Regions from separate parts of the Homo sapiens genome. Here regions 2, 3, 4, 5, 6 and 7 are each linked to region 1. The links are contacts of gene promoters, found by promoter capture Hi-C in blood cells and fetal thymus (Javierre and others, 2016). All regions are on one chromosome and are shown on one strand. Each heading gives the region's core, a stretch centred on a gene start or on the middle of the fragment in contact. The rest is flanking DNA. Distances are from core to core; before and after follow the strand shown.

The links. Contacts are between HindIII fragments. The CHiCAGO score rates a contact against its expected background, and 5 or more counts as called.
Region 2: a contact is called between a fragment that was not itself captured here and the fragment with the promoter of RHAG in region 1, in 2 of 17 cell types (erythroblasts and megakaryocytes). The highest score is 29.6, in erythroblasts.
Region 3: a fragment that was not itself captured here is called in contact with the fragment with the promoter of RHAG in region 1 in 1 of 17 cell types (erythroblasts); the score reaches 5.3 in erythroblasts.
Region 4: a fragment that was not itself captured here is called in contact with the fragment with the promoter of RHAG in region 1 in 3 of 17 cell types (megakaryocytes, erythroblasts and endothelial precursors); the score reaches 13.2 in megakaryocytes.
Region 5: a fragment that was not itself captured here is called in contact with the fragment with the promoter of RHAG in region 1 in 2 of 17 cell types (erythroblasts and megakaryocytes); the score reaches 8.8 in erythroblasts.
Region 6: a contact is called between a fragment that was not itself captured here and the fragment with the promoter of RHAG in region 1, in 2 of 17 cell types (erythroblasts and megakaryocytes). The highest score is 10.4, in erythroblasts.
Region 7: a contact is called between a fragment that was not itself captured here and the fragment with the promoter of RHAG in region 1, in 2 of 17 cell types (erythroblasts and megakaryocytes). The highest score is 23.9, in erythroblasts.

The regions. Positions count from the first base shown.
Region 1 is chr6:49,635,360-49,638,219 of GRCh38, forward strand. It overlaps RHAG (Rh associated glycoprotein), which reads right to left and starts at 1,480. Exons shown (of 10, transcript NM_000324.3): 1 at 1,297-1,480. The coding sequence starts at 1,453. The HindIII fragment of the contact is 2,886 bases long and covers 436-2,860 here.
Region 2 is chr6:49,825,730-49,828,468 of GRCh38, forward strand. No RefSeq gene overlaps it. Among named protein-coding and RNA genes, the nearest start is that of CRISP1, 39 kb to the right of the region's middle. The HindIII fragment of the contact is 2,934 bases long and covers 1-2,720 here.
Region 3 is chr6:49,458,052-49,460,751 of GRCh38, forward strand. MMUT (methylmalonyl-CoA mutase) reads right to left here. Exons shown (of 13, transcript NM_000255.4): 2 at 1,031-1,454; 3 at 1-7. The coding sequence starts at 1,415. Among named protein-coding and RNA genes, the nearest start is that of MMUT, 3.9 kb to the right of the region's middle. The HindIII fragment of the contact is 2,992 bases long and covers 1-2,700 here.
Region 4 is chr6:49,866,689-49,869,388 of GRCh38, forward strand. It overlaps a transcript of CRISP1 not described here. Among named protein-coding and RNA genes, the nearest start is that of CRISP1, 1.5 kb to the left of the region's middle. The HindIII fragment of the contact is 540 bases long and covers 1,069-1,608 here.
Region 5 is chr6:49,790,319-49,793,103 of GRCh38, forward strand. No RefSeq gene overlaps it. Among named protein-coding and RNA genes, the nearest start is that of PGK2, 4.4 kb to the left of the region's middle. The HindIII fragment of the contact is 4,478 bases long and covers 1-2,785 here.
Region 6 is chr6:49,806,580-49,809,556 of GRCh38, forward strand. No RefSeq gene overlaps it. Among named protein-coding and RNA genes, the nearest start is that of PGK2, 21 kb to the left of the region's middle. The HindIII fragment of the contact is 1,609 bases long and covers 821-2,429 here.
Region 7 is chr6:49,768,693-49,771,495 of GRCh38, forward strand. No RefSeq gene overlaps it. Among named protein-coding and RNA genes, the nearest start is that of PGK2, 17 kb to the right of the region's middle. The HindIII fragment of the contact is 4,649 bases long and covers 1-2,803 here.

The DNA of each region.
Region 1 (2,860 bases), core at 230-2,729:
TTACAAGTGTATCAGATAGTGGAGTCTTAGAATAAAAGAATCATATTTGTTTTATTTTTTAATAAATTTGCTGTAGCACATGCTTAGTGCTTAATAAAATATGTACTAAATGAATAAATGGATGAATGAATGAAATGTACAAAAGCATACATAGATGAACAGAATTTTTTCTGTTTTATTCTCTAACTTGCAAACTATAAAACTTATTTAATCAAGAACCCTCTCAGACATCTATGCAGTGTAAAGACAGCTAGACTTGGAGTCTAGTTTTCTCTGTCTTATTACCCTAACTCTGTCCTTAGCTTTCAATTTTATATTTTTCCTATGTCACTTAGCAACTCTAGGCCATTATTTCTACATGGGAATACCCCCATCATATTAATTCCCTCAAAAAATGTTGGAATAAAAAAAAGGGTGTCAAATTGTTTTTTAAAAAGCTTAGACATATGCTATGAAGTATAATAAACATTATACCATTTTAAATAATTTTTAAATTTTTTAGATTATTTGAACCTTACTTAAGAAAAGCAAATAGTCTATATAATAGTGACATACTACTGTCTTCCTTCCTGGCTAATGAGGTAATGGATGTGTTGGTTTATAATAAGGACGCAGTAAATGGTAGTTATTGTTATATTAACTATTTTACAGCCTACCCTTCCAAACTTGAATTAAATTTCTCTCTTTGCTCAATCATCATTCCCAAGGAAGGATTTTGTTTTTAAAATATGTTAAGTATTCACACATTTCTTTTCATCTCAAAGTAACAAACCGACTTCCTTTCAGAATATTGTAAAACTCTGAGTACACTTTTTTGATTAAAACTCCATTAACTTCCTACATCATACTAAATACCCCTTCTTATTCCTTAGGGTCCTCACATGAAATCTAGGGTTCCCTTCTTATAACTCCATTCTTAGAACTCTCTCTCCTCCAAAGTTACCTTTGGCCCTTTCAGTGGGGAATGCAAAGGAAGCGTGATACTTTTCTTTGCAGAACTAGTGACCAACTGAAGGAAAAAGGTCATTTAGCAGTAGATAAGCAATACAAAAGGCATCAATTATTTTAATTTTCAGCTTCTTGTTCTGATATTTTAATAGGAAAAAGTTCCAACCAAGCACCTTAATCACAGAGAAGAAGACCAGATGTCACATCACAAACATGTAATATCCTTAGCACTCATAACCATCATATAATTCTACAAAGAGCTCAAGGGTTTATAGTATTCAATTGTTTTACATTCTGAGAAACCGAAGAACCGAAAAATGTATAGTAAGTAGTAAATTGCCTACTCACGAGGATATAACTCAAAGAATATGCCCATGTCTGTTGGCTTGGTGATGTTGAGCTGCTCGAGAACAGTCTGGTCCGTTTCATACTCAACAAATAATCCAAATAAAACAATCATGGCAATTTCCAGGACTATAGCCATGAGAGGGAATGTGAACCTCATGTTTGTGGCAAAGGACAGAGGCACACTGAGAGCTTCACAGGCTGTGAGATGTTGATAAGAACAAAGGACTGCTCTGTGTGTGGAATTTGACTGCATGTTCAAGGCACCCCAATGACATCACAAGAAAAAAAAAATGGGCAAGACTGATTAAAATGCCCCACCCATTGGGGAAAATTATGCTCTGTAATCTAATTGTCGTTCTAAATGTTGATCTGAAGAATATGCAATGAAATTGTGAGAACCTGGATGATGCCAACAATCTATTGCACAGGCCTCTAGAATCATGTTTAACTTAATTCAGTAGACATTTCTTGAGGGCTTATTGTATACCAAATATTGTGGTAGGCTTTGTAGAAGGCATGAATCTAAAGCAATATATATAATTGGTCTGTTAACTTCTTGAGAAAATTAAGAATCTAGTTGGGAAAACATAAATATAAGTGAATGATTATATAAAAACAAATATGTGATATAATAGTGGTTATAAAAGTATTATAAAACATAAATAAGGCAGTGAAACTTTTTGCCTTAGGCCAAGAACATTAGCATATAAAACAATATGGATGTGAGAACTAGAACATAAATAGGGTTTTTCAAGTAAAACAGATAAGAGGGAATGATATAAATCTTGGAAGAACATGGCATGTTTTGGAAACGGCAATCAGTCAAGCAAAGCTGGAATGTAAAAGAGATGAAGAGAAAAGGAGGAAGTGGCAGAGATAATGTTGTCATGGAGGTGGCTGTGTTGTAAAGACCCTCACATTCAGTACCGAGGATGCTAGATGCTAAATATTATCCCATGAGCAATGGGGAATATATAGGACTGTAAGCAGTTTTATGTACTTATGAAGTTTTTGACTCCTTACTCTGATTTACGCAAGTGAAAATATGGAAATACACAAATGAGTTGTGATATATCTTTTAGTCTTAAATAGGAAGAGAGTAAACTTAAACAGGAACATAACTAATCTATCATCCTTATAGATAGTCAAGTGTAAATAAGATGCTAAGCAATTCAAAACTACCATATAGGTGGAGGAATTCTTGTCTCCTCTTTGGAATTGTTCTCATGGCAGAATAAACCTGTTTTTGAGAACTAAGAGCTACCAGTTAAATACAATTTCTTTCATGAAGCCCAATTTCCAAAAGATTCTATGCAGAATTTGGAGAGAGAGTGCAACTGACTGCCAGGATACATACATTGTAATAAATATTTATAAAACAAAGCAGCAGGATTTTTTGGTCTTTCTGGTATGATTTTCCACAGTAGAACATGATATGTTAGGACTAAGTGATATTTGAAATTTTATAAATATACAGACACTTTGAAAAATGACTATTTCCATTATTCGTTACAGCATAGTACAAGAGGAGTGGGTTCACATGCTTAGCTATGAAAATACATGT
Region 2 (2,739 bases), core at 4-2,503, 190 kb after region 1:
GCAGGTAGGGGTGGTTAATGGGTACAAAAATAGCTAGAAAGAATGAATAAGTCCTACTGTTTGATAGCACAATAGAGTGACTATAGTCAATAATAATTGTACATTTTAAGATAATTTAAAAGAGTGTAATTGGATTGTTTGTAACTCAAAGGATAAATGCTTGAGGAGATGAATACCCCATTCTCCATGATGTGCTTATTTGACATTGCATGTCTGTATCAAAACATCTTATGTACCCCATAAATATAGACACCTACTATATATACACAAAACATAAAAATCAAATAAATAAATAAATGAAAAGAGAAAATAGTTTATAGGGTAAATAATATTTGATAAATTATCTTACTGTAAGGGGAAAAGTAGAAAAATAGATCCTCAGCTAACCTAAATTATTTTTAAAAATATTATAATATATGAAATATGTTGTAGGAAAGAATTCAGGAGCAAAGAAAACTGCAGGTCCAGGAGTTTCTACGAGTACATGCTCATGTAAAGGGGTTTATGGAAGAAAAGTTAAGACATTTTTAACAAACAGATGAAGACTACTAAAGGAGGTGAAAACCTGAAAGATGAATATTAATATACAATTAATAGCAAATGGGTAACTTATGACCATATTTAAAAAAAGCTCAAATTACTTGTATTTGTTCAAAACAAAATGGTTTGTGCATTAAACAGATATTATTAGATATTGCTTGTTGAAAATATTACCATGGTTCAGATTATACTGGAGAAATCCTTTGTTGTTTCTTTGTGGCATTGTTTTATCTTTTAAGTTATCTTTTCCAATAGACTGTGTCCATATTTATATTAGTGGTACCATCAATAAATACGCTACCTTCAGCATTTTAGAATTTTCTGAAGGCAACTGAAAAGCAGGAGCTTGACTCGCGAATGATCACATACTGTAGGTGCTTCTTCTTCGTATATTTGCAATTTTTATACAGTATAGATGCTGAACTATAACATTCCATATAAGTAGTTTGCAAATGCGCTTGACAGAGTAATAATTGTTTTAAAGAAAATAACAAAGATTCATAACAAATAGAAATAGACAATACTAATAAAAGGATGCCTCAAACGTTTAGTTCTTTATTGTTCAGTTGAGAGCAACTTCTTGACAGAATTTTTTCTATCGAGAGGGTTTACACATACCATATGCCATAGTGATTTGTCAGCTTACAAATATGTTTCATAGCCCTGAACCACAGTGAAGAACTTTTTACCCAGATTTTAAAGCCCCACCAATTAGAAGAATTGCTTGTGATATATATAGCAGGTCAGGAAACCTCTGTTTTCTTGCATCTGTAGATAATTGACCTGCTACACGGCGAACTTAAGCAAAATCTTAATTCATTCAAGCAAAAAAATGCAGGTTCACTTAGTGGTAGGGTAATGGCCAAGATAGAGGAGCCACATTCTCTCAGGTCCTCCTTCTTAAAACTGAAAAACTTGAGCATACATAACAAACAAGCATAGGAAGACTCTAGAAGTGAAACTAAGAAAGCAGACTGTGTAAGGACCTTGGACTTGAGTATCAGCATGAAAATGACTTCTCTGAGTTTCCTTTTTGCTTCCCATATATACTAGACAGAGCACTGCAGAAGTCTCAACCCCAGAACCACTAACAGGATCAGACAAAAATTAAAACAAACAAACCGAAACAGAACAAGGGAAGCCTGCTCAACTCAGCCAAAGGGTTAAGAAGGGTGAAATAATAAAAAAGAAAAAAATTTTTAGCCATAACTGTCTGACTCCAGACAGACAATGAAAAGACTGTCCACAAAATGCTTGGAATGGCTTCAGTAGAACTCAGCACAGGGGCCATAACACCTTACAAACTTCTGAAAAATTAAAGCCAATGAAAAAATTTAATAGAGAGAAACAATATATAACTATGGAGGAATAACAATTTTAGTGACAGTAGATTTCTCTTCTGAAACCACAGAGTTCAGAAGAGAGTGGCGTGCTTTACAAATGCTTAAAAAAATGATTAATCCTGAATCCTATATCCGGTGAAAGTATACTTCAGGAATAAAGGGAAAATAAAGGCATTCTCACATAAAGAACAGTCAGATAATTTATTTGTAAGCCTACTCTTAAAGGAAGGCTAAAGGATGTTCTCTAGATAAAAATTAAAAGAGATGATAAGAGAAGTTTTAAAAATTCAGAAAAGAAAATATCAGAATGGATAAAAATGAGAGTTAAATACAAGAGACTTTTCTCTTCATGATTTTCTTAAAATATTTGTTGGTTGAAGCGAAAATTGTTACACCACACATGGTGATGTTTAGTATATGTAAAGTTAGTACTTAGTATAAATATATTGTTAAAGTGGGAGGGAAAGGTACCTAAATAAAAGTGAGGTTTCTACCCTTCACTCTAAGTGACAAAATATCAATACAAGTAGACTGATAATTTAAGTATATATATAGTACACACACACACACATATATATGTAGAGTAACCACTAGGAGAAACTATACAAAGTGATACACACATTAAAATTAAAACACATTAAAAATGTGCAAATAACTCACAGGAAGGCAAGAAAAGAGAAACAGAGGAACAACAAACAGAGAAACAAATGAAAATAAATAATATAAGGCCAACTTGAGCCTAAATATACTAATAATTTTAAAAAGCACAAAGAGAGAAAATGGTGGAGAGAGTATCAAGATGGATCATGATATAGTTCAGTAAAAAATTGAATTTGAAGCTTGGCCAAAGTGAGAA
Region 3 (2,700 bases), core at 1-2,500, 180 kb before region 1:
TGACCAGCTAAATATATAAAGAAAAATAATGTAAGATTCAAGAGTCTGGAATCAAGGTAAAATGATTTACTTTTAACACTACTAAAAATGTTGATTCATCTCATAACAGTACACTTTTATAACAACTATTTTTATGCTCATACATGTCAAAACCAACTTAAATAAAGATACTTCACTTCTTAAGAGAGTCAGTTGTTTCCCTTGTGCCAAAATGCACAAATTTAGTTCCAGACCTCACTAAAGGAAAGAATGGGAGAAACAACAAATCTCAATCATCTCGTATCTATCTGAAGATATGGTACTTGATTGAAATATTTCTAAAATTCATGAAAAGATCTGGCTGTTCATATATGGCAAAAATAACTTAGCATTTGTATGCTTGCTTACTATTTTGTTCTTTTATCTAATATGGTCACAAAGGATTCCTGGCTATTCAAATATTCTGGAAAACAGAATTATGACCATCGTACAAAATTTTTAAATAACTAAAATAGTCTATACTAAATGTAAGTTCAACCTTCCATGGGCAATACAAACTTATAAATCTACAAGTTTAGTATTCAAACAGTACAATTTTATTACAGCTCAGAAAGAAGAAATAATAGTTAAGATAATTTTCAGTGAATGAATGCCAGGTTGCACTGAATATGTTTGTACCACGTTATCACATTTACACTTTCTTTGGGCATCATCTAAACTATCTTCCTCTCCAATCGCTATCCCAACAATGTTAATTGAACATTTTTCGAAGGCAAAGCTAATGTCTTCTTTTCTTCATGCAACTTTACCTCACCTAATTCCTTTTAAACAACGTGCATGTGTTGTTTTCTTTCAAAAATTTAGCACCTTATTCTAATTCACTTATCTTTTTGACCACAGAAGTTAAAAAAATCCACTTTTTTCAGAGTATAGTCTTTAACTACAAAATTATAGAGTGAATATCATCTTTACAGAGATTAACCCCCAAAAAATAAAAAACTAGGAGGCATATGACTTATCATAAATATTATGTCTTACATTAAAATCTCACCCTTAATGTTGTCCTTATAGAACTTATTGCTTTCTTCCACAGTACTAAAACCAGCATACTGGCGGATGGTCCAGGGCCTAAAGGTATACATGGTAGGATATGGTCCACGTGTGAATGGCTTCACTCCTGGAAGTTCTTCAGGTAAGTCCATAGTATCTCTCTTGGAATACAAGGGTTTTATAGAGATCCCTTCCGGGGTGTGCCATATTAGGTCTTCTGGGTTTTTGCCTTTCAGCTGCTTTTTAGCCAGGGCAGCCCATTCTGGGTGAAGGGGCTGTTGCTGGTGTAGAAGTCGTTGCTGTATGAGCCTGGAGCCTGATGATTCTTTTACCTGCCTCAGGTAATGAGGTGAAAGTAAAAAAAGCTGATTCTTAGCTCTTAACATGGTGGAGCATGGAAACACCCAATAGAAATAAGAACTGACCTAGAAAAAGAAACATAGAGTAAAAACATTTAGAAGAGGGGGTGGGAAATAGGAGCTACTCATAAGAAAGGAACAGAAAAGAAAGAGGATGTATTAGTCTGATTTCATTTCTTCCCCTTTTCTGCTTCCTGCACCTGATATTTTATAACTTTGGCCCCTCTTCTTCACAATTACTATCAGTCCTGTAGTTTCAGTCTTTTTCCTCAGTAGCCTCTTAGCTGGTCTTACTGACCAGTCTTACTCCTTTTCTACTCCATTCTATACGAATCCCTTCCATACAATGACATCAATGTAAATATGACTATGTCACACTCCTCATGGAATTTTTCAAAGACTCTGTATCATGTGGAAGATATACTACAGCCTCCTAATTAATTTTTTCATTCAAAGTGCTTTTATTAAATATCAGTTTATGACCGACATTATGTTGGGTAATAGAGAAAAAAGTGATGAATAAGACAAACAGGCATTCAAGGCCTTCATGAACTGGTCTCTGTTTCCCCCTCAGACCCATCTCTGTCTTTGTCCTCTTTATGCATTTTGTGCACTAGAAATACTGGATTACCTACAGTTGGCTGCACATATGTCAAAGTTTTCTGAATTTGCTCTTGCTCTTCCTTCTGCCTAAAATGTTCTTCTCTGGCTAATTCAGCTAAGGCATTATCTCCAATTTGCAGCGTTTCTATGTGCCAGTAACATAGAAGGCTATAAAGACATCACAGAGAGTAGCAATTTTAATCTTTACAATACCCCTAAGAGGTAGGTACTATTATTATCCTTATTTTACAGATTAGGAAACTGAGGCACAGAAGAGCCAGCATTGATTGGAACCTATGCAGCCTGTTTCAAAGTCCTTGCATTTAACTAATATGCACACAATTCATCCCAGAACCCATAAGGTGAGCTAAATGGCCTCTTCAATAATCTACTTCTGTGCTAGTTTATAAACTGCTCCAACATTAGAGCTGCATATTCCGGATAACTAGCATAGACTTTTATACTAGGTTGCTGGGTTCAGCGTCATCATTTTCCAGATGTAGAAACTGAGGCTCAGAGAAATAAAGTCGCTTGATCAAAATCCCACCTCACAAAGCCGTAAACTGTTTACCTGAATTACTAAAACTTGTCAGAGTCATACAGCGTAAACATATAGAGCCCATTGTTTAAAAAGATATTGAGATGCAAACATTAATATATTCACTATACTATGTGTTTTATACTGGATAAGGCAACAAGTAAAGGGAGT
Region 4 (2,700 bases), core at 89-2,588, 230 kb after region 1:
TCATCAATGGAACTCACCAATTTTAAACTTTTACCCTGGGAACTAACTGCAAAGATTAGTTGCATGATTCAGCAGAGCCACAATCAGATAACAAAGGTCACTGTAAGGGAAAATGACTTGCTGGTCCAGAAACTTCTCAACTTTATTAAATTCATTCAGTAATTATTTATTGAGGTCTTAAGATGATTTATGCTCTCTTCTAGATGCTGAGGATACATAGAATCACCAAACATATAAACTACACAATCTTATGGAGTTTGGTAACTGTTCTATAATGTGTCACATACTTGGAGAGGCTCTGGGAATGAAAAGATAAGTAGTCCATTTTCCTAAGACCTTCCTGGTTAAAAGGAAAACTTCTGCAATTTGGGAGAATTCTAATAGAGATTTGTCCAGAAACAATGTGGAAGCAACTAACTACCTTGAGAGGTCTAGAAATACTGAACACTAAATTGTAAAACACTAAAAATTCCAGAAATCATTTGAGTCACATGATGAGAAATATCACAGGACACTTAGAACAAAGAAAGAAATATCACACAGACAGAAATCACATATGAGAATAGAAAATTTACTCTGAAACTAGGTGTAATCAGATGTTTTTGAATTGTCTTATTATTCTGAAAAGTTGGGAAATGTTTGTATATGTGAGTGCATGGTCGCTTATATTGAAGTCATAGCTTGCTGGCCTCTTTTTAAAATTATGAATTAAGTCTTTGTTCTTTGTAAGAAAGAATACATTATTATTTAATAAAAAATATTTTTCTTGTATCTTGCTTAAGAAAGGGCAATTGAATATCTAAAAGGAAAGAGTAAAAATAAGGTAAGAATTGTGTAGTCATAAGTTATTTTGTGTTAGTTCTGGGGTGAGGGTTAGGAAATAAAAATTAAAAGAAAGATCAGAGTCTCTTAAGATAGAACTTTCTGGTCTTGTTAAAGTATATAATGAATGTCCAGAAAACCATCTGCAGGAAAGGAGAACTAAACATCACTAAAAATTGCTCACCTATACCTAGAAGAATTTCTCTTTTGGTTGAGGGAGATGGTGTTAATCTAAAAACATAGAAAAGCTTATCTGTAAACTCTTTCATAGATAAGATGAATTATCTTTAGCTTAACTTTAATTGGCTTTAAAGAATTTTACATGATCTTGAAATTAACACTTCCAAATTATTGAGCAACTTTCTCCAACAAACTACATTGTAAAAAGAAAGCTGCAAAAGAATGCTATTACTTCACCAAACCAGCATGGTTTATATATTAGAAATGTATAATTGTCATTTATTTCTTGCTAAACTGCTGTTTATAAAGGAGAGTGTTGATTCAACATCAAGTCAAGTGTTTATGGAAACTTAATTGCTCTGGTTTTATCTGTTGGTCCTGGCAATTCCTGGCATTGCTCTACCCAACACAATGCTGTCTGTATTTATAGCACTGATGTCTTCATATAGAGTTGCTATCCAGCTTCATATATGGTTTTAAAAGAATTTGGGAAGTGTTGGAAAGCAAGGAATAACTTGATTTGCATGTGAGTCCCAAACATGGGTGCCAGTTGGCTGTTTCTGTTCATAAATTTCCTATTTTCATAGATTGTTCTCTTTCTGTTTAAGCTTTTTAGCATAGTAGGAAACTATCTACAATAACTTTTTTCCCTAAAATAATAATCTGACACATTTATCTAGCATATCATAACATGATAGAATATTTCTAACTGGATTATCCCAGAAAAATCTTGAGAGATAGATAAAGGCTAATGTGTTTACAATCACATCATGTTTGTCTGAATATATCCATTTTTAAAAGAAACTTTAAATCAATCATTTACTCAGAGATTGGCTAACAAAAATTTTAGAAAGCCCAGATATATAATACATGTTGAAGGAAGCATTCATGTGTTAAATGTGATTTTAAAATCATATTTGTAAAATAATTTTGCATATATTCTGGCTGTGGCTTTATTCTAATTATCCACTGGACACAGACATCCTCTCCTTTCCCTTCACTTTCTCCATGACTGAACTCTTACCTACAACAATCCCATTTGTGTCTCATTGCTTCTTCATACCACTCAGTAAAATTGTGCTTATGCTTCAAAGTCCTGTATGTTGCAAGGGCTCAATGACTCCAGACTTGCTCAGAAACTCAGGCCAAAAAGTACTCTAGACTTTAACAAATTCAAACTTATGTTGCACATAAAATAAAGCCAAAGTCAGTTTCTGAATTTGAATTTTAAGAACCCTGGGAGATTAATGGCCCTTTGAAATTTCCCCCCTCTTCTTCTACAATTTATAGCTTTCATAATCAGAATGAAAGTCAATATACATTTATCCTTCTATTCAACTTTGTTTTAGTTGTCTACTTCTCATAATAAATAATCCCAAGGCTCAATGATTTAAAGCAATAAATGTGGTCTCTTGGTTTCTGGGAATCAGTAATTCAAGGATGGCTTGACTGAGCACATTTGGTTTATGGTGCCTCATTGATTGCAATCAGTTGTCAGTTGAGGCTGCAGACATTTATATCTCTGATGGCTTTCCTGCTTCCAAATTGATTTACTTATATGACTTGCAAGTTGGTGCTGTTTGTTGGTGCGAAGCCCTAGTTGCTCTCCAGATTGGCCTTTCCACAGGGCTTCTGATTATCCTTATAACTTGACAGTCACCTACCCCTGAGCAAATGATGCAAGAACACAGGAGAGGC
Region 5 (2,785 bases), core at 45-2,544, 150 kb after region 1:
AAATAATGTATGTAGACACATTCCTCTACTAGAGGTGGAGCTTAATGGACTGTTTGAATGTAGTGATAAATAGATTCTGAGTATTCAAATTACTATTCACCATGATTTACAAATACTAGATTTGAAAGACCCAAAAGGAAAATATACTCTTCTGTTTTGGCACCTTTCTGTAAAGAAGATTTGCAGTGTGCTCTGCACTGAGCTAAACCACAAGGGCATTTTGTCACCACTTCCCCAAGATCTGTCTTCATGTAACAGCATCAAGCTCTGAGGACCTTGTCTTTCAAAATTAAAATCCTGTTACCACGTATCATCCCACATAGAGGCTGAAATGTCTTCTTGACTAAATCCAGTTTTCATCTATGTTCACAGTATCAATGTCTCTACGTTCTCCTGTTCTTGGACAGGTTTTCCAGGTTTTCTTTATGCAAATGTCCTCTGTTTCTCTCCAGGTCTTTTAAGGGCTGCTTACTTAGCTACTAGTATTTGCTCATGGTGGTGACTGATTAAAGTCTATGATGGAAAGATTTCATTATAGGTTATCCATTTTCTTTGAAAATTGAAACATGTTATGGATATAATCTATTATTCTTTCTATTAGGAAGCCTGTGAAATATTTGGGGCAGTTTACCTTCAATTCACCTTTCCATTGACAATGATTGTAAAATATGCAAATATATATTCCATACGTTATGCAGAGTTCTGGGTGCTGAAATGACTAATAATCTATAGGTATGTATATTCTCATGTACATATTGTGTCATTTTAGTCACTAATTTTTAATATTTCGAAACACACCAATCCTTCTTTTAACAATTTAAAAACAATTTTTAAATTGTTTATGAATTTGTAAATGTCCCTATTAATAATAGCAGCAAACTTCAATTTATGCATTTGAAAATGTTTCCATGAGTTTTTGGGATCATTGTAAAAGGTAGACTAAGGTGGCTGTATGGTGCTATCTCTCCCTTTCAATGGCGAAAACCGCTACTCTTGCGTCAACCTAATATATAACTTTTTACACAGTGCAGAATTAGTTTGAAAACAACATAATAATTCACACGATAACATTATGTATGAATTAGCCAATGCATTTCTTTTAAAGTATACTTTTTTGCATTTGTTCCTCCATCTACTTATCTATTCTTCTTTTTTTTCTTTATTATTATTATTATTATTATTATACTTTAAGTTTTAGGGTACATGTGCACAATGTGCAGGTTAGTTACATATGTATACATATGCTATGCTGGTGCACTGCACCCACTAACTCGTCATCTAGCATTAGGTATATCTCCCAATGCTATCCCTCCCCCCTGCCCCCACCCCACAACAGTCTCCAGAGTGTGATGTTCCCCTTCCTGTGTTCATGTGTTCTCATTGTTCAATTCCCACCTATGAGTGAGAATATGCGGTATTTGGTTTTTTGTTCTTGTGATAGTTTACTGAGAATGATGATTTCCAATTTCATCCATGTCCCTACAAAGGACATGAACTCATCATTTTTTATGGCTGCATAGTATTCATGGTGTATATGTGCCACATTATCTTAATCCAGTCTATCATTGTTGGACATTTGGGTTGGTTCCAAGTCTTTGCTATTGTGAATAATGCCGCAATAAACATATGTGTGCATGTGTCTTTATAGCAGCATGATTTATAGTCCTTTGGGTATATACCCAGTAATGGGATGGCTGGGTCAAATGGTATTTCTAGTTCTGGATCCCTGAGGAATCGCCACACTGACTTCCACAATGGTTGAACTAGCTTACAGTCCCACCAACAGTGTAAAAGTGTTCCTATTTCTCCACATCCTCTCCAGCACCTGTTGTTTCCTGCCTTTTTAATGATTGCCATTCTAACTGGTGTGAAATGGTATCTCATTGTGGTTTTGATTTGCATTTCTCTAATGACCAGTGATGGTGAGCATTTTTTCATGTGTTTTTTGGCTGCATAAATGTCTTCTTTTGAGAAGTGTCTGTTCATGTCCTTTGCCCACTTTTTGATGGGGTTGTTTGTTTTTTTCTTGTAAATTTGTTTGAGTTCATTGTAGATTCTGGATATTAGCCCTTTGTCAGATGAGTAGGTTGCAAAAATTTTCTCCCATTTTGTAGGTTGCCTGTTCACTCTGATGGTAGTTTCTTTTGCTGTGCAGAAGCTCTTTAGTTTAATGAGACCCCATTTGTCAATTTTGTCTTTTGTTGCCATTGCTTTTGGTGTTTTAGACATGAAGTCCTTGCCCATGCCTATGTCCTGAATGGTAATGCCTAGGTTTTCTTCTAGGGTTTTTATGGTATTAGGTCTAACGTTTAAGTCTTTAACCCATCTTGAATTAATTTTTGTATAAGGTGTAAGGAAGGGATCCAGTTTCAGCTTTCTACATATGGCTAGCCAGTTTTCCCAGCACCATTTATTAAATAGGGAATCCTTTCCCCATTGCTTTTCTCAGGTTTGTCAAAGATCAGATAGTTGTAGATATGCGGCGTTATTTCTGAGGGCTCTGTTCTGTTCCATTGATCTACATCTCTGTTTTGGTACCAGTACCATGCTGTTTTGGTTACTGTAGCCTTGTAGTATAGTTTGAAGTCAGGTAGTGTGATGCCTCCAGCTTTGTTCTTTTGGCTTAGGATTGACTTGGCAATGCGGGCTCTTTTTTGGTTCCACATGAACTTTAAAGTAGTTTTTTCCAATTCTGTGAAGAAAGTCATTGGTAGCTTGATGGGGCTGGTATTGAATCTATAAATTACCTTGGGCAGTGTGGCCATTTTCACAATATTGATTCTTC
Region 6 (2,977 bases), core at 375-2,874, 170 kb after region 1:
CCTCTTCTCCTCCAGATGATCACAGCACCTCTTCAGCAAGGGCACAGAACTAGGCTGAGGCTGAGATGGCTGAATTGACAGAAATAGGCTTCAGACTGTGGGTAATAATGAACTTCACTGGGCTAAAGGAGCATGTTCTAACCCAATGGAAAGAAGCTAATAATAATGATATAAAATTACAGGAGATGATAACCAGAATAGCCAGTTTAGGGAGGAATATAAATGACCTGATGGAGCAGAAAAACACAACAAAACTTCCCAGTGCAATCATAAGTATCAACAGCCAAATAGGCCAGGTGGAGGAAAGAATCTCAGAGCTTGAAGACTGTCTTTCTGAAATAAGACAAGCAGAAAAGAATAGAGAAAAAAGAATGAAAAGACATGAACAAAACCTCTGAGAAATATGAGATTATGTAAAAAAAAAAAAAAAAAAAAAAACCTATGACTGATTGGAGTACCTGAAAGAGACGGGGAGAACAAAACCAAGTTGGAAAACATACTTCAGGATATCATCCAGGAGGACTTCAACCTAGCAAGACAGGCCAACATTCAAATTCAGGAAATCCAGAGAAGTCCGGTAAGATACTCCATGAGATCAACCCCAAGACACCTAATTCTCAGATTCTCCACGGTTGAAATGAAAGAAAAAATGTTAAGGGCAGCCAAAGAGAAAGGCTAGGTCACCTACAAACGGAAACCCATCAGACTAACAGCAGACCTCTCAGCAGAAACTCTGTAAGCCAGAAGAGATTGGGGGCCAATATTCAACATTCTGAAGTAAAAGAATGTCCAACCCAGAATTTTGTGTCTGGCCAAACTAAGCTTCCTAAGTGAAGGAGAAATAAGATTGTTTTCAGACAAGCAAATGCTGAGGAAGTCCATCACCACCAGGCCTGCCTTGTAAGAGCTCCTGAAGGAAGCACTAAATATGGAATAGAAAAACTGTTACCATCCACTACAAAAACACACTGAAGTACACAGACAATGACACTATGAAGCAACTGCATAAATAAGTCTGCAAAATAACCAGCTAGCATCATGGTGACAGGAACAAATTAACACATAACAATACTAACCTTGTATGTAAATGGGCTAAATGCCACAATTAAAAGACACAGAATGGCAAACTGGATAAACAGTCAAGACCCATCAGTGCGATGTATTCAAGAGACCCATCTCACCTCATGTGCAAACACACACAAAGGCTCAAAATAAAGGGATGGAGGAGAATTTAGGAAGCAAATGGAAAACAGAAAAAAGCAGGGGTTGCAATCCTAATTTCTGACAAAACAGACTTTAAACCAACAAAATTCAAAAAAGACAAAGAAGAGCACTACATAATGGTAATGGGTTCAATTCATCAAGAAGAGCTAACTATCCTAAATATATATGCACCCAACACATAAGCACCCAGACTCACAGAGCAAGTCCCTAGAGACTTTCAAAGAGACTTAGACTTCTACACAATAATAGTGGGAGCCTTTGATACCCCACTGACAATATTAGACAGATCATTGGGACAGAAAATTAACAAAGATATTCAGGACCTGAATTCAGTTCTGGATTAAGTGCACCTGATAGATATCTACAGAACTCTCCACCCAAATTCAACAGAATATACGTTTTCTCATTGCCACATGGCACTTACTCTAAAATTGATCACATAATTGGAAGCAAAACACTTCTCAGCAAATGCAAAAGAACTAAAATCATAACAGCCTCTCAGACCACAGCACAATCAAATTAGAAACTCACTGAAAACCACACAACTACGTAGAAATTGAACAACCTTCTCTTGAAATACAAATGGGCAGTCATTAACCCTTAAAGTTTCAAAATGATTTCCTTTGACTCCATGTCTCACATCCAGGTCATGCTGATTCAAGAGGTGGGCTTCCATGGCCTTGGGCAGCTCTGCCCCTGTGACTTTGCAGGGTACATCCCCTCTCCCAGCCGCTTTCACGAGCTCACATTGAGTGTCTGCACATGCTCTCTTGCCTGCCACCATATAAGATATGCCCTTGCTCCTCCTTGGCCTTCTGCAATAATTGTGAGGCCTTCTCAGTCATGTGGAACTGAGTCCATTAAACCTCTTTTTCTTTATAAATTACCCAGTTTGAATATTTCTTCGTAGCAGTATGAAAATGGACTAGTACACATACCTCAAAATAATAACAGCCATATATGACAAAACCACAGCCAATATCATACTGAGTGGGCAAAAGCTGGAGGCATTCCTCTTGAAAACTGGCACAAGGCATGGATGCCCTCTCTCACCACTCCTATTCAACATAGTTTTGAAAGTTCAGGCCAGGGCAATCTGGCAAGGGAAGGAAATAAAGCATATTCAAATGGAAAGAAAGACAGTCAAATTATCTTTGCAGATGACATGATCCTATATCTAGGAAACCCTATTGTCTCAGCCCAAAAGCTTCTTAAGCTGATAAGGAAATTCAGCAGTCCCAGGATACAAAATCAATGTGCAAAAATTGCTGCCATTCCTATACACATCAAGAACAGGCAAGCGGAGAGCCAAATCATAAATGAGCTCCCATTTACAATTGCTACAAAGAGAATAAAATACCTAGGAATACAGCTAACATGGGAAGTGAAGGACCTCTTCAAGGAGAACTACAAACCACTGCTCTGGGAAATCAGAGAGGACACAAACAAATGGAAAATCATTTTATGCTCATGGATAAAAAGAAACAGTATCATGAAAATGGCCATACTGCCCAAAGTAATTTATAGATTAAATGTTATTCCCATTTAACTACCATTTTACATTCTTCACAGAATTAGAAATAAACTATGGAACCGAAAAAGAGCTCATATAGCCAAGATAATCCTAAGCAAAAAGAACAAAGCTGGAGGCATCATGCTACCCAACTTCAAACTATACTACAAGGCTACAGTAACCAAAACAGCATGGTATCAGTACAAAAACAGACACATAGACCAATGGAACAGAATAGAG
Region 7 (2,803 bases), core at 49-2,548, 130 kb after region 1:
AAGAGCAATGCTTAAGTTCTCCATAGAGACTCTATGCTCAGAAACTTCCTTCCTATTCTATGACCTTTGATAAGATTGCAGTAATAAGACGTAATGTCTCCCTATAATTAGTCTGATATAGTGGTTCTCAACCCTATCAGATCCAATGCTTTCTTCTTATCGTAAATTTTAAATACCACTCCCTGACAGACATTATTCTGGAAATAAATGCAGGGATAATAATATATCCTTGACTTCTAGAGTGTGCAAAGCCCTGAGAATATAGTTTTTGTGGTGCCTCTTTTTATTTAAACTACTTGACTTACCTAAAATCAGCAAGTAAGCAGAGTCCTAGTGGCCCAATATTATTTAATCCCGATAAAACACACACACACACACACTCACACACACACACACACAGGCAGTTGGGAGTGATCCACTCACAGGCAGCCTACTTGGAACTGAGGCCTTGCCACAAAGGCTGAGACAACCTATAGATTCAATCATGATGCCTTTGGGGGCAACTAGATCCCATGTATGGAGCAGAGATTTGGACAGCAGCTCAAAGGGGGAGAAATGGAGACTAATAGCCACTCAAGTCCTAGACTTTGCTTGGAGCACACTTCTAGGACAGTACCACTGGCCCCAGCCTATCCCAGCCACAGAAGGGAGACTTAGATATTTTCAAGAAAGGTACTTTAAATAAAAGCAGTCCCCTGAGATTCAGATATAGGGGCAGGGGCCCTGCTTGCTAAACATTTTTTTTTAAGATTGATGTTAATAACATAATATATAACATATATTATCTGTTTTCTAATCCATCCCTTAACATGGATACACAGTCCATGCCCGTTTTATAGTAACCATGGAGAGTTACTATATATTATGTAATATATGTTATATATTATGTTATTAACTAATATAATACTAAGAACAGTACTGAACATTTTTTAAAAGAGTGATGTTAATATAATATATAATATATAATATATAATTTAACAGAGAAATTAAATGAAAGTAATTCGTAATATGTTACATATACTTTAATTCAAAAATTTTGTTCTACAACTACACCAGAAAATGTAATGAAATTCTCAGATACTTACAGCCTCTTTTTATGAATAGATTTGTATTTAACAACATAAGAACATCACAAGCCCTTATTTACAGGAAGTATAGAAAATAAAAGAACAGAAGTATAGACAGACACCAGAAAAAATAGGATTAGTATAGTTAGAGACCAGACATATTTGTATATGATAAGAGAAAGAGGGAAATAACCTTAAATGAATTTGCGATTACATGACAAAGCAAATTAAAGGTTGATAAATTGAAAAAATAAGGAAGTAAGAATTTCTTGTAAATGAGCTCAATGTTATCTATAAATGCACTGATAAAATAACTCCTTGGACAGTAATTTGGGTCCCGGTGGATTATTGTACTTTGGAATGATTCCCTTGAAAATTTCTAAGTCCTATTCTTGTGGCTGAGACCAACTGGGTCTACAGTGACATGCAGAAAATGTTGCCCATGCCAAGATAGGTACCTACATGGGCTCCAGTACCCATTTCTCCTCTTTAGATTGCTCTTCAATCCTGTATATATGGGGTGAAATTGGTGAAGATTCACAATAATTATATCTGCTATACTGAATTTCTAGCACATATTCAGGCATACTTTAAGTTACTTGCATTTAAAATAAACCTGGAGACCACGTTCTTCAAGAGGCAGTAGGGAATATAGGACAGATTTAAAAAACAGTGATTTGAGAGGTTGTAGAGGAATTATGTAATCTGCTGTTGAGGAGAGTATTGAAAATGATTGAAGATTGAAAATGGTACTTGACTCCAAAAAGACTACCTGTGTTGTGTGGTAAGAAAGTTGGAAGGGGCCGATGACTTCAAAAAGGAGGTAGTGTAGTGCGAAGTTAAAAATATCTCCCTATTTCCTGGTTTCATCTGTCTCTATGTGGATGGTAGAATCAGAGATTCAGTAGAAGGGTGTCTGACAGTCTATTAAACCATTTTCACATTTTGCTTTCAAACTCTGTGCTTTCCCAGGAATTGTTTAATTAGTAGCATGCTGTTAATGTGTAGTATTCACTGCACATTTGAAAATAGTGTGGATTATATTTATAATCAGAAAAAAAGTGTTTTTGCTTACATAATTTGTTTTTACCAAATGAAAATATCTGAAGAACCAGAGGGACCACAAAAGAGAAATCAAATTTGTCTTCAGAATATAATTAATTTCATGACATTTATTACTCCACTTATTGAATTATTATAATTTCTAGTTATTAAAAATTCTGTGAGGAAATAAATTAAAAAATAGGTTAGTTTGTGCATGTCAATCATATATTTGTTGGCTTATTTTTTTTTCAGTTGAACATGGTTCTAATCTTGTTGTCCCACTTGTTGATAATGTTCTTCAATCTGAAAGTCTCATGATTCTTTGGACCACAGTCATAAATCATTAGTATTTTTATTTTATTATTTGTTTTAGGTTATGTTGATGTTGATTTGGCTTAATTTTTATTTTTATTTTATTTTATTTTTTATTATACTTTAAGTTTTAGGGTACATGTGCACAACGTGCAGGTTTGTTACATATGTATACATGTGCCATGTTGGTGAGCTGCACCCATTAACTCGTCATTTAGCATTAGGTATATCTCCTAATGCTATCCCTCCCCCCTCCCCCCACCCCACAACAGGCCCCGGTGTGTGATGGTCCCCTTCCTGTGTCCATGTGTTCTCATTGTTCAATTCCCATGTATGAGTGAGAACATGCAGTGTTTGGTTTTTTGTCCTTGCAATAGTTT